Regions from separate parts of the Homo sapiens genome. Here region 2 is linked to region 1. Evidence: promoter capture Hi-C in 16 types of primary human blood cells and fetal thymus (Javierre and others, 2016). All regions are on one chromosome and are shown on one strand. Each heading gives the region's core, a stretch centred on a gene start or on the middle of the fragment in contact. The rest is flanking DNA. Distances are from core to core; before and after follow the strand shown. Region 1 holds the start of IL22RA2 (interleukin 22 receptor subunit alpha 2). Region 2 overlaps LOC105378017 (a long non-coding RNA gene).

Region 1 (6,990 bases), core at 1,529-4,028:
AAAAGAAAAAAGAAAACATCACATTTTAGAGCCAATGAGGGAGCTTATACATTTCAGAGAAATTCCTAGTGTAAAAATTTGTATTGGTATAAAATAAAGAATAAAACAAACAGAACAAATATCTGACTCAGGAGTTTTTGTTTTTTGAAAAATCCAACAAATTAAATAAAACAAAAACAAAAGGAAGGAATTTTTAAAGGTAAAGGAGATAAAAATGAGACATGACTTTTTTTAAAGTAGAATACAAAACTACAAAATTTAGTTCCTTGAAAAGAAATTTGAAAATAAATATCCAGCCAATTTACTAAGAAAACAAGGGGAAAATCATTACTCAAAACAGAAAATTATAAAAGGGAAGTCACAGAAAAAGGAGAATTAAATAAATCATAAAGGAATAACTTGCACAACTCTGTACCAATAAATTTAAAGGCATGAATAAAAAGGATAGTCTTCTAAAGAAAATATACTTTGTAGCAACTGAATCTAGATGAGATAAAAAAAAAATCGAAACACACTAATTACCATAGAAGAATTAGAAAATTGTCAGATAATACTATCCTGTATTTTCTGCCCCCAAATTCCAAAAGCACCCAGATGATTTCTCAGGGAAATCTATGTATCCTTAAGAAGCAGATAATTCCTAGGTCACTCAGATTAATTTATCCAACTGACGAGCTGACTGCAACATTGCATGATTTTGCAAAGGTCATTGTTGCCCATGAGTGTCTGAGCTCGTGAGTATCTGACCATAGTAACCTCACAGTCCACAGAATCTCAGCCCCTTCCCCTCAGGACTCCTACTTCAGACCATAAAAAGCAGAAAAGCACCTTCCCGTTCCTTTAGCTTAATTCTTGTAAATTCATGGCAGTTGCTAAAATCACATTCCTTTTTTTTGATTCACTAGACATGTGATAAGGGCTTACTGTGTCCCCAGCCTTGTCCTAAGTGCTAGAGTTAAAGCAGTGAACAAAACACATAACATCCCTGACCTCGTGGAGCTTATATCCTAGTTGGGGAGATAGACAACAAGAATAAAATGAAACATAGCCTGCCAAATGATGATAAATGTTTTGGAAAACAAACAGATAAAGGTGCCAGGGACAGCTGTTGGGGACTGCTATTTTGGGTGTCATAGAATTCACTGATAAGATAATATTTGAGCAGAGACATGAAGGAGGTGAGGGAGTGAGCCTGGACATCTCAGGAAGAGCATTGGAGCAGAGGGAACCTTGCTAATGTAGGGATGTGCCTGATATGTTTGAGAAACAGCAAAAAGACCACCCAGGAGGGAGCACCATGGGTTGGGAGGAGAGCAGTAGGAAATAAATTTAGAGGTAACAGGACCTGGTTATATAGGGCTTAGTAAGGGACTGGAAAAATGTTGACTTTCAATCTGAGTGAGATGGGAAGGCATCACAGGGTTCTGAATAAAATGTTCTATTCTGACATTTAATAGGAACACTCCACCTGATGCAGAGAACAGTGACAGAGGCAGGCAGACCAGTAAGGAGGCTGTGGCCACAGTCCACACAAGAGATGATGATAGCAGGTTACCAAATGGGTACAGTGGAGGAGGTGAAAACCAGTTGGATTCTGGTTATGCCATGAAGATATTTTCAGGATCAAACAATACATACAAACATACTGGTGCATGGGCATAATGATTGATGATATCTGGTAGGGGTTTCAAGGTGACCTTGGGTGAAGAATAATCAAAGCTACATATTGGGTACAATGTACATTACTCGGGTAAGAGATGCAATAATATCTCAGACTTCACCACTGTGCAATCCATCCAGGTAACCAAAAACCACTTGCACTATTGCACAGCTACTGAAATAAAAAAAATACATATTTTTTAAATGTTACCACTCCTTTATGTTTTGGTTTTCAGAAATAAATTTTAAAAAATTTTTTAAAGAATAATCAAAGCAAAATCAATAGCATCTTTTATCCAGAAAAATAAGAGTGAAGAGCAGGAAAGGTTAACCTCATTAAGCCCTATGTCCTATGAGTGGAGATTTTAAATAATATATTAGTGATCACAGTCCAAAAACTCAGATTAGTCATTGTGCTTATCACCTGTGTTTGAATAACAATGTTTCTTTTTCTTTTCTGAATTCAAGTTCACAAACCATTTTGAATTTTTGCATGCCAATTATTTCCAGAATGCCGAACTGCTTAAAGGACATGAATATTACTCGGTGGAGCTATTAATGTCCCAGCAAATAAGAAAGAACAAGTTGTTTCCCTGTTGTTGGCTCTACAGCTCTATAGTTTTCCAGAGAGGGAGAAGGGTGGTGTTCAGATTATCATTCATGATGAAACTTTTAAAAGATGCTCAGCTGCCCACCAAATCATAGGATGAAGGAAAGGGCCTAGCAGAAACACAGTTGCTCTGACTTCCCTTCAATGGACAGCACCAAAGTCATACTGAACACCAGTTTTTAAACACTTCTCTGAAAAACAATAAGAAACACTTAGCCCTTTGCTACCAAGACCTGGTTGAAGAAAATGCTGTTGGTTCCCTGAGGGCTGGCTCTGTAGTCTTGTTCATTTCTGCATCCCCGATGTCTAACACAGTGCCTGGCATATAACAGTTGCTCAATAAACATTTGTTTGACTGAATAAACGATTCGAGAAGCCAATGGACAAATGTTCTTTGACATCATTCTATCCCTTTATGGAATGTCTATTACAAGCAAAGAATAACACAAGAGGAGTTTCATAATACTCCTCAGGCCCTGAGGCTAACCAGATCTGATTTCAGCCCTCACTTTACCACTACTCGCTATAGAGCCCTGGTCAAGTTCTCTCCACCTCTCTATCTATGTCTCAGTTTCTTCATCTGTAACATCAAATGAATAATAATACCAATCTCCTAGACTTCATAAGAGGATTAACAAAGACAAAATATGGGAAAAACATAACATGGCGTCCCATAATTATTAGATCTTATTATTGACACTAAAATGGCATTAAAATTACCAAAAGGAAGACAGCATCTGGTAAGTAAACTTTATTTATTTATTTATTTATTTTTTTGAGATGGACTCTCGCTTTATCGCTGCCCAGACTGGAGCGCAGTGGCGCGATCTCGGCTCACTGCAAACCTCACCTCCTTGACTCAAGCAATTCTCCTGCCTCAGCCCCACTGAGTAGCTGGGATTACAGGCACACACCGTCACGCCTGGCTAATTTTTGTATTTTTAGTACAGACGGGGTTGCACCATGTTGGCCAGGCTGGTCTGGAACTCCACACCTCAAATGATCCACCCACCTCCGCCTTCCAAAGTGCTGAGATTACAGGTGTGAGCCACCGTGTCTGGCCACATCTTGTAGATAAACTTTAAAAATCTTTTTTCTTTGTTATGAACAATTTTAAGTACATACAAAAGTAGAGTATAATAAACCTGACACCCAATTTCAACAGTTATCAGCTCATGGATGGTAACCCCCTTTCCCAGGCCTTTGTATTATTTTGAAGCAAATCCCAGACATGACACCATTTCATCTGTAGTACTATAATAGGTAGCTCTAAAAAAAAATAAAAATAATAACCAAAATTCCACATCACACCTAAAAACAATGAAAAATGATTCCTTAATTAGATAAATGGTTGGTCTGCTGGAAGCCACAAGAAGAAAGGAAGAAGAGAATCAAATCTGTTCAAGACAGGGGCTTAAGCAAGTTCTCTCCAGAGTCAACACGATGATGGAAATACCCGTTGTCACCGTCAAGGTGGACTCTCCCTGCTGCGGAGTGGGGCCGAGGTCGGGGGAGGGCAGGGAATGAAGCCAGCATTTCATGCCTGAAAGGAGGCAGAGCGGAGATCCCCTAGTGACTAAAACTTTCTTACTTCCCAAACAAAACAGCATTTCATTTGAAACAATTCTGTACAAATTCTTCTGCTTCCAGATTGATGGGAAATTAGAATTTAATTTTATCTTTTCATCTACCTTGAGGCCTTGTTGACAGTGTTGGCTTTTATGCAGGTTCTATTACACAACTAGAGCTAATTGAACAGTGACAGAACTGGTCTGGTTTGTGAAATTTAATAGAGCACCAAAGCTCACGTTTTGGGGAGAATTCAGTTCTTAAATATGTTTTGCTTATCCCACTCCGCCTAATTTCCCCTCATTTGTTTGACAAAGTCAGCAACCCAGTGGAAACCTCAATTTCGTTCTCTGCTGCTCTCATCATAAAACCTCGAATTTAAATATTTTCCTTTTATTCTTAGCTGGAACTTGGAGCAATTTGGTGGCTTCAAAATGAGATCTATTGGTATTGAAGCCATTGAACATCAATAGTGCAAACCCACATTATCATCCCCCATTTAAATACCAAAGTAAATGTGAAGTGGTAAACATTAGCAGGGAAGTGAATAACAATGCTGAGAAGGTTGCAAGCTAAGGAGCATGAAGAGGTGAAAAGGGAACATAAAACGTGCTGCATGTTTCTTCTTTCAAAGCAGAAGCTACCTTATAAGCACCAAAAACTTCAGCTGGAGGAGATACAAGCCTGGATTCAGAAGACTGCCGTAGAACAGAGGCACTGGGAAACCTGATGTTATCCACACAAACCTTTCCACATAGGGCTGGCCTCAGAAAGCATGCAGCGCAACTGCCCTCCAATAACTGAAATTTGTTAAATGAAAATTGATAGTGGCCTGGTCCACTGGGATCTGGTTTCTGAGGAAATTTCTGATAAGCTCTCTTCTAAGACCCTTTGCTCAGGAATAAGGTTTTCCCTGCGTGGCCCCAGCTCCACCCAAGGCCTCACAGTCTCAGGCACCCGAGTGTCTAGAAATGTTCACAGGTGCTGGGTCATGGGGTTGGGATGGAGGGTCTACACTTGAGAACAACTCCTCTGCTCCTGTCTGTATGCAGAAGGCCATTCTTCCCTTTCTCTTTGAAGACTCTGCCTCCTCCACATCAGCAGCACCCAACCCTCTCCTTTTAGCACTTTCATTTTACCTGCTTCCCCTCCTACATTCTAGTCTTGGTTAATGGTTGTGATGGAGGGTGGGAGGCAAAGTGGCTTTGCAAGCCGGCTTCTGAAACTTTTCATCTCCCATTTAAGAAGGAGAAGAAAAAGACAGAGAAGGTTAGATGAATAGAAGTTGTAACCCTGCTGTAGCTCCTTATTCTCTACTTTTCCCTTGAGAAGCAAGCTTAAGGAAGGCAGGGGCAATGTCTCTCTTATCTGCTGCTGCATCCTTGCTGCTGAGACTAATTCCTAGTTTATGGTAGGACAGCAAATATTTGTGAAATGTTATTGGATAGCTGCATGGATGGATACTGCTTAGCAGCCATCATTATTCCTTACTAAAGGAGCTATTCTACCAAGAACTTGAAAGAGACTATACAAGAGAAAATAGAAACCAGTATACATTTCCCCTTTTGATCTAAAGAGCCTCTCTTTTTAACAACAACAAAAAAACCTTTATGACTTGCGGAGGCTGAAGCAACTTCATTTTTAGATGCTAATCTGCCATGTTGACTTCTGATTAATCCTTTTTCAGGAAGGCTTCTAAGATTTCTAGTTTATCGATTGTTCCTTGTATGAGAACACATACTTGTCATAAGTCCTGCCTGTACGTCAAAACCACCTTGATGTTATGATACTTCAATTGTCATATACATCCCTTCTGAATCACGCAGGCCCTTTCCCGGTGGTATGTAAGCCCTGGGTCTGTTGCGGGATGATCAAAGACTGAAGAGACCGAAAGTTCAGGAAAGTTTATTAAATTAAGGTGATCACCGGCTCAGCTAGTCTGAGCCCCAAACAAAGGGCTTTTCCTACTTTTAAATATCTTAAGGTGGGAACTACGTGAGGCGGGAATCGAGTTACAGAAGCAAGAAACAAAGGCAGTATTACAACGTTTGTTACATTTTGAGAAAGACATGTCTTGCAGCCTAAACTTATCAGTCTTGTGACCCTGCAGTCATGCAGGAACTCACTGGGCCTGTAATAAACTTTGAGGAATGTGGAGTTGGGGAGTATAGATAAGGTCCACTGTCCACAGAGAGAAGACAGGCTGTTAATATTCCCTTTTAACGTGAATGTAAGGCAGGGGTCACATTTTGCAGGAACTTTAAAAGGATTTTAAAATTTGTATTACTACTACTCTTAGGTTATAGTTGATTTCATTAATTCCTTCTTCATTTCCCCCTTTTGGTGCTCGACACAAATGTAGATTAATAAAGAGCACCACAGTTAGCTATTTCTTCTTGAGTGGGTACATACTCATCTTGGGATACCAGTTGGTACTTTTGCAGAGCCTTTATTCGGATGGTGGTATGTCTGTCTACCATTGAGTCTATGGTGGATTGGATGCTTCCGATTAGAAATGGCAAGAGACAGGGAAGCAGTAGGCATCCACCTTTTATGGCCACAAAGCCTAGTATTACAGTTTTAAAGCCTCCAAACCATGAAAACCGTCCTCCAAAGAGTGAACTCGGGTTCCAACCAGACCATGTCTGAACCAGAACATGAGCTAACTTCCGCATCCTGGCAGTGATTTCCATGACAGCTTTTCCATTGTCATCAATTTGTAAGCAGCAATTTGTTAAATTAAGTTTTCCACAAACCCCCTTCTGAAGCTAAAACATAATTCAGTACTAACCTGTTCTGATAAATGGCATCTCTCATCTGGGTTGCCTGTATGGCTAGCAAGTCTAAGGCTCAGGCTGTTTCATTGACTATAATTTCCAGAACTGCTTGCAACCTTATGATGTGGTTTAACATATAAATAGGAGTACAGTATCCCCATGACCCATCTTGTGCCCAGGGGGCCATTCATTATCTTTCCAGCCCCCTATTTCAATGTCCTTTTTAATGTTAGTATTTATTTTTTCCTCAGTACTTATTTTTGTAAACACATTTCTTTTGACTCTTTTTCTGCCTTCATCATAGACCAGATAGCTTAGATCTTCCCCTTGCTGCAGGGGGAGTAGCAAAAAGAATGGCCTTATTGTTCCTAATAT
Region 2 (6,990 bases), core at 1,849-4,348, 130 kb before region 1:
CACACTCTCCTGTGGGTATAGTATACTGCCCTATCCTAACAACTATGAGCTTGGCCACAGGACTCACTCTGGCCAACAGAATCCTAGTGGACTTAACATATGCCACCTCCGAGCAGAAGTTTTAAGTGTATGTGATGTGGCTCTGTCCTTCCTGAGCTTCTTCCCTTGGCCATGAGACTAGTTAACCTCAAACAGGAACTGCTGCCTCAGCCTGAGCCCTGGAATGACATAAGATGTGGAGCCGAGCCAAAGTCAGGCAAGCCCGGCTAGACTCAGGCAAGCCCCACCCCTCCCAGTCAAACCTGCGGTTAACCTGCTGTCTTCATGTAACACAAACAAGAAATAAATGTTTGTTTGTTCGTTAAACAACCAAGATTTTAGAATTGGCTGTTGTCACAATAATTGCTGACTAATCAATCAGCAATTATCACAAGTGAAATGTGATAATGTGAGAAATGTGATAAATGACTGTGGTATAAATTAAATTGTGACATTAAGGTTGGGAGATTTGAGGGCTACCAAAGGAACAAAACCAAACAGGCCTTAGTAATTTATTAGAGGTAAAAGTGAAAAATATAGAGGAGCAAATCATGATATTGAGATTTCTGTCTCAGTAACTGGGGATGGGAAGCAAAGACATGTTAGAAAATTTTAAATGTTGAATTCTTTAGCAAGTACAAAGAAAATAATGGAGCATAAGTTAACACTGACAAATATTTTAATGCACATTTGTGTGATTATAATTACTAAAGTGACTATCATCCATCTCTGTTAAGCATCTAACAAGTGGAAATAAGCTTAATTTGCATGAAAAGAGGTTATTACACTCAAGAATGACACTTCTGACTAAAAAGGTTGTTAGATATTAGAATGCATTATCCATGGTATTCAAGGAATTTTCTTTTACAGGGAATATTTAGTTCCAGATTAGACATGGAATTTTCAAAATTAATTATGAAGGAAGATTTTTTTTCTAGCAGTGTGATTTTACACTACTCTTTCCTATTCTTCAATGACTTTGCTTAGGTTAATTTTATCTCTCTGGGCCTTCATTTCACCATCTGTAAAACCAAGAAATGGGACTGGATGGTTTTCAAAGCTCCTCACAGTTTGGAAACAGCGAAGCAGACCCCACCAGGACTGTACAACATTATGGAGTAAGCACATAGCCTGGATTATGAAAGGGGTCTTGGGAGGCTTAGGAAAGTTACCTGTATATACTGTCCTTTTTATATATCAATATTGATATTGCCAGAGATAGAGAGAAGACACTGTTTTTAAGCCAGGTTTTTTTTCTGATAAGGAAAAATGTTTAGTTAAAATCATTTTTGGCATAATTAAAATGTGGAAAAAAAAGGGTCAAGAAATGTAATTTTCTGTGACTTTTAAAATATGAATAGAAATCCCAAATATTTAATGCCTTAATCCTTGCTCTATGTGTCAACATAATTAGACTTTACAGTTTGACCTAAGTAGCTACACTTTGCCTTGGAAAAAATATTAGGATAAGCAATATCTATATATGCCTTTAGACCTAACGCAGCATAAAATATGATAAGTAATACTCATAATTATTGGATTTGACAAGTGGGCTGTTTTTACAGCTATGTGACTTCTAAATAACTAGATGCTTTAAGTACAGTTTAACGTTATTAAATGAGATTTTATTTACAAAATGTCTGGCACATAATAAACAATTAAAAAAACCATGTGTCATTAGCACTCTCAGGTCAGGCCTATTGTGGAGCATCTGTAAATGCAGGTGGTGCTAAGTCTGATCACAAAATAACTGAAATCACAGATTACCAATCAGTTAACAACACTTATTGGGTACAGAGTCCTGCAAATTCAGACACTGTTATGCAGAAAGGAAGGAAGTTCATGTTAGAAAATAGACTAAGCTATATGAGACCCAAGAGGAAGTTAGGCTATAAAATGGAAACACACACACACACACACACGACGGTTTCTGATCACGGAGTTCCTCAAATTTTAAAAATAAATAAGAACATGCTGACTTTTCATCTACCCGCCAAAGATAAAGCTAAAATACATAAAGACAGGTAGTCTAAAATGCAAGGGTCACAGGACAAAAGGTCTGTACCCATGAAGTATGGAATAATTTCTTAAACTACTAACCCAACCCAACTACCAATCATTGGTAATCTGTGATTTCAGTTATTTTGTGATCAGACTTAGCACCACCTGCATTTACAGACGCTCCACAATAGGCCGGGCCTGACAGTGCTAATGACACATTGTTTTTTTGAATGTTTATTATGCGCCAGACATTTTGTAAGCAACAGACCTCTTTATGCACTTGTAAGGGCAGAAAGATGTGACACCTTTCCTCATCCAGCACAGCTGACATTTCTATAACAAAAGACTGACTGGTTAGCAAGAGAAAAGCGTAACAAATTTATTTAATCAAAGTTTTATGTGACATGGGAAACTTCAGAGATGAAGACCTAAAGACCCTGGGAAAACCATCTATTTTTATGCTTAGGATCAATGAAGAATGGGTAGCCGTGTAGAAGTGTGATTGGACCAAAGGGTAATAGACTGAGGGCAGAACCCAGTGAGGTCTGACTGATCAGATTCTTTTTGGCCTCCCTGTGTAGCCTTCTTTCCTCCTGGATATGGGGCAGGACCCATCTGGAATGAGAATTTTCAAGGGAGAAGGGAGAGAGTGACCTTTATATGTTTTATGACTTGCTTTGGAAGAAAGAGGTTCTAGTTTCTGTGACCCACCTTGGGAAAGAGGAATTCTGGTTTCTATGACTCGCTTTGTGGTAGAAAGAGGGGCAACAGATAGGAGGACGGGAGAGGAGCAGAAGGACCGTGCCTCTCAGTCTTTCAATCTCCTTTAGTTCAAAGTACTCAGCATGCCAAGGTGCCTTACTTTGGGGTATCATATTGTCAGCCCCAATACCCTCATGACTATCAAAGAGTTTTACAGAAGACTTTTACTAGTCTCAGAATTAGTAGGGAACAATCTTTTTGAGCTAAAAGATGGCCAATATGTAACTTTGCACATAGTAGGCACTCAGATGTTTTGAATGATAAATTGTTAGGGTTAAAAACCATTAACTCTGTAAAGGAAAATTAAGTATTGCTGTATCTATTTGGCCCAACATATCCTCCATGAACTAATTAGAGTAATGACTATTTGCAGACATTTCCACACAGGTAATTATTTGTAAGCAAGTTAACATTTTTTTAGAGGGGAGGGAAAAATTCAAATAATAGTTATTTCAGATATTATTCTCAGTTTTATGATATGAAATACTGGTCTTAGTATATGTACCAATAATGTACATATATGTATAATAATACCAAAAACTTACAGTACATATATGTGCCAGATACCATTATAAGCACAACTATACATGTGTATACATTCATTTAATTCTCACAAAAACCCTATCAGGTAAGTCCTATTATCCCCATGTTACAAAAGAGAACACTGAGGCTTAGAAAGGTTAAGTAACTTACTTCGGATCACACAGCTAGTAAATGATAAAGACAGAATTCAGATGAGATCAGGCACATTCAGGGTGGTATGGCTGTAGACATAAAGCCAGAATTCAAACATGGGCAGTGTATCTTCATTATCTGTGCTCTTAACCCAAATGTTATGGTGTTCCTCCAGTAAACTAACTAAGATGTATTTCATTCCAGTATCTCTCACAAGACTGGAATTTCCACCAAGGCAAAGTGTAGCAACTCAAGCCACGTCTCATAAATCCCAGTGTTGCATATTCTCCTTAGTATATTTAAAATGACAGCTGATGATAAAGGAAAATCTGCTTTCAATAAATCTCAAGCTCAGGCTCAATTCAGTCTATCATATCACTTTGTAATATGAAAAATAAAATGGAAAATCCATATATACATTAATGATCACCTTATTTATTTGTTCCATCATCCAGACTTTGAATGGAAGTGGATGAAAAGTGGTCCAATGTTGGGAACAGGCCCCCCAAAACCTGGCCATAAACTGGCCCCAAAATTGCCCATAAACAAAATCTCTGCAGCACTGTGACATGTTCATGATGGCCATAACGCCCATGCTGGAAGGTTGTGGGTTTACCAGAATGAGGGCAAGGAACACCTGGCCCACCCAGGGCAGAAAATTGCTTAAAGGCATTCTTAATCCACAAACAATATTATGAGCGATCCTTAAGGACATGCTCCTGCTGCAGATAACTAGCCAAACCCAACCCTTTATTTTGGCCCATCCCTTCGTTTCCCATAAGGGATACTTTTAGTTAATCTAATATCTATAAAAACAATGCTAATGACTGGCTTGCTATTAATAAACACTGGGTAAATCTCTGTTCGGGGCTCTCAGTTCTGAAGGCTGTGAGACCCCTGATTTCCCACTTCACACCTCTATATTTCTGTGTATGTGTCTTTAATTCCTCTAGCGCCACTAGGTTAGGGTCTCCCCGACCGAACTGGTCCCGGCAGTCCAAAAGGAATTAAAACAGAATTTAATTAGACATTGTATTTATGTCCCTATGTTTTTCAACTTTCACATACTGTAAATAAAATTATAGTCCCCTGTGTAATCATTTCCATTAACACTGATTTCCTGAGTGATCTGTGTGATAGAAACTTGTCAAATTCATAATCAATATGGATCAAGCAGAAACTATTAGCTCTGTTCTACCTGGATAATGCCTAACTCCAAGTGTGTTGTTCAAAGACACCCTTATCATGATCCTGCTGCAGTTTGGAGTCTTGCACCAGTGTCCTGCCTGTCAAGAGCTGTGAAGACCTAAGCTATTTACCAAAAAGCAAGCTAACAATTTATCCTGCCACAATTTCATGGATAATTGCAAAAGCCACAAGACTCTGGATTAGACTCAAAGGACTTTCTTACTTCCAACACAACGGGTAGCATGTGTTTTCATATTCACATCAACCCCTTGTTCTGCTAAGTCTCACTGGAGTAATGAAGGTGGGCTGGGTCGATACATGAAGGAGGTTTGCATCATATTGTAACTAGTATAGCCAGTTTGCTAGCTTACTCTAAAAGTAACCCCTCCCTCCCTTTGTTCCTTGTTACATGTAACTGTTTGCTAGAGAATTCCAGTGGCCAATATTGAAATAATGTAGGCATAAAGTGGAGATAGCAGTTGCAATTTTCTCCCTTCTGAGAAAAAATTGGTGTTCAATTAATCCATAACCTGAACCCTGCTGAGATGATGCCAGTGAGGCCTCTGGGTGGTCCATTACTGAAAAAAGTCACCAGAAAATTACAAGCAAACTTGCACCCCGCACCATGCTGGTGCATAGTTTCCATGCCACCTTTCCCCTTTAAACCTCTTTAGCCAAACTGAGAATTTGAGATGGTTTTTTGAGAGTTGAGTCAGGCTGTTTCCTCAAGCTTCTAGCACTTGAAGAAACCTGCTTTCCTCCCACTAATCCTCACTTCTCATGTCTGGCTTTTCAAGCAGTGAGCAGCTGAACATGAATTTGGTTACAATAGCCAAGGAATCCCAAATTTAGGAAAACTTTATTTTTCTTTAATGGGCTACAAACAAACCCGCTCATTAAAGAAAATAATATATCTCTCTCTTTGCCCTAGAGAGAGATATTATTATACTGGACAGCAAACAAACCTGCCCTCTGTTGTGGAGAGAGATCTTACCTCTGTTTTCCAAGACTATTTACTATACAAACATCTTTGAAAAGAACAAGGGGTCTGTTAGTTCTGCTCACAAGATGTAAGAAATGAGAGAGATCTACCTTTCTCTCTGGAGAACTACCTTTCAACATACCTTTACTGCCGAGCCATGTGACTACAGCCATTTGTCTGCAACATACTGCCATAGCCAGGTGGCCCGACTGAGTCAAGGATCAGGATCAGTTTGCAGGAACTCTGATTCCCATCCAACAGTAAAATCCTTATCATAAACCTCCAAACCACAGAAGCCTGGAAATCTACAAATACTACTCATCCAGATGCTGACCAGCCCACTAAAAGTGAAAATAGACTTCTGCTGTAACTATTCAGAAGAGAGAAGGAATCTCTGAGGGTTTGTACTCACTCTTTTTCTCCTTCCCTTTAGCACCCCCACTCCTACCCAGAAAGAATACATATCATCTACTGTTCTGTTTAATCTATTTAGATCATGTCTTTGGCAATTTATGGACTTTGCAAAATTTGTCTCTACACTATCTTCCTTCTACTATCATCATTCCTCGTGCCCTCATCCCACAACCTTGTCCCCACACTAACATGGTACATTCATCAAGGCCAAAGAGTTTACTCTTCCTGCCCAGTCCTAGCCTTGCTCTCTTATCTAACGGTTTCATTTTTCAGACAGGTATCATCTCTAAGAAGGCTTCTGTGTACATTCCCTCAGTGTAATTAGTCTATTCTCATGCTGCTAATAAAGACAAACCTGAGACTGGGTAATTTATAAAGGAAAGAGGTTTAATTGACTAAGTTCAGCATGGCTGGGGAGGCCTCAGGAAACTTACAATCATGGCAGAAGGGGAAGCAAACACATCCTTCTTCACATGGCAGCAGCAAGGAGAAGTGACGAGCAAAAGGGGGAAAAGCCCCTTATAAAATCAGCAGATCTCGTGAGAACTCACTCACTATCATGAGAACAGCATGAGGGTAACTGCCCCCATGATTAAATTACCTTCCACCCAGTCCCTCCCATGACACGTGGGGATTATAGGAACTACAATTCAGGATGAGATTTGGGTGGGGACACAACCAAACCATATCACTCAGTATTAGAACAGTTGCTAATCCTTTGCCCTTCCACGCACCCTGTGTAAACTCCTGTCACTGGCTTAATTTACCACTTTGTATTGCTATTACCAGCTGACATGTTGGCCTCTGTGCCTAACTTATGAGGGACTCGAGGTCAGAGCGTTTGTCTTTATTTACAAATAACCAACAGCTTGTTAAAAGATAAACTTAGGCACACTAAACTTTCAAAGAGTTTATTTGGGCAAACCGTG

Evidence for each region. The method cuts DNA at HindIII sites, captures the fragments that hold promoters and counts their contacts. A CHiCAGO score of 5 or more calls a contact.
Region 2: a fragment that was not itself captured here is called in contact with the fragment with the promoter of IL22RA2 in region 1 in 1 of 17 cell types (neutrophils); the score reaches 5.5 in neutrophils.

What each region holds. Positions count from the first base shown.
Region 1 is chr6:137,169,432-137,176,421 of GRCh38, reverse strand. It overlaps IL22RA2 (interleukin 22 receptor subunit alpha 2), which reads left to right and starts at 2,778. Exons shown (of 7, transcript NM_052962.3): 1 at 2,778-3,009. RefSeq lists enhancers at 3,804-4,023, 3,920-4,678. The HindIII fragment of the contact is 14,362 bases long and covers 1-5,176 here.
Region 2 is chr6:137,302,593-137,309,582 of GRCh38, reverse strand. It overlaps LOC105378017 (a long non-coding RNA gene), which reads left to right. Exons shown (of 3, transcript XR_943043.1): 2 at 1,027-1,157; 3 at 3,682-3,811. Among named protein-coding and RNA genes, the nearest start is that of IFNGR1, 87 kb to the right of the region's middle. The HindIII fragment of the contact is 4,598 bases long and covers 800-5,397 here.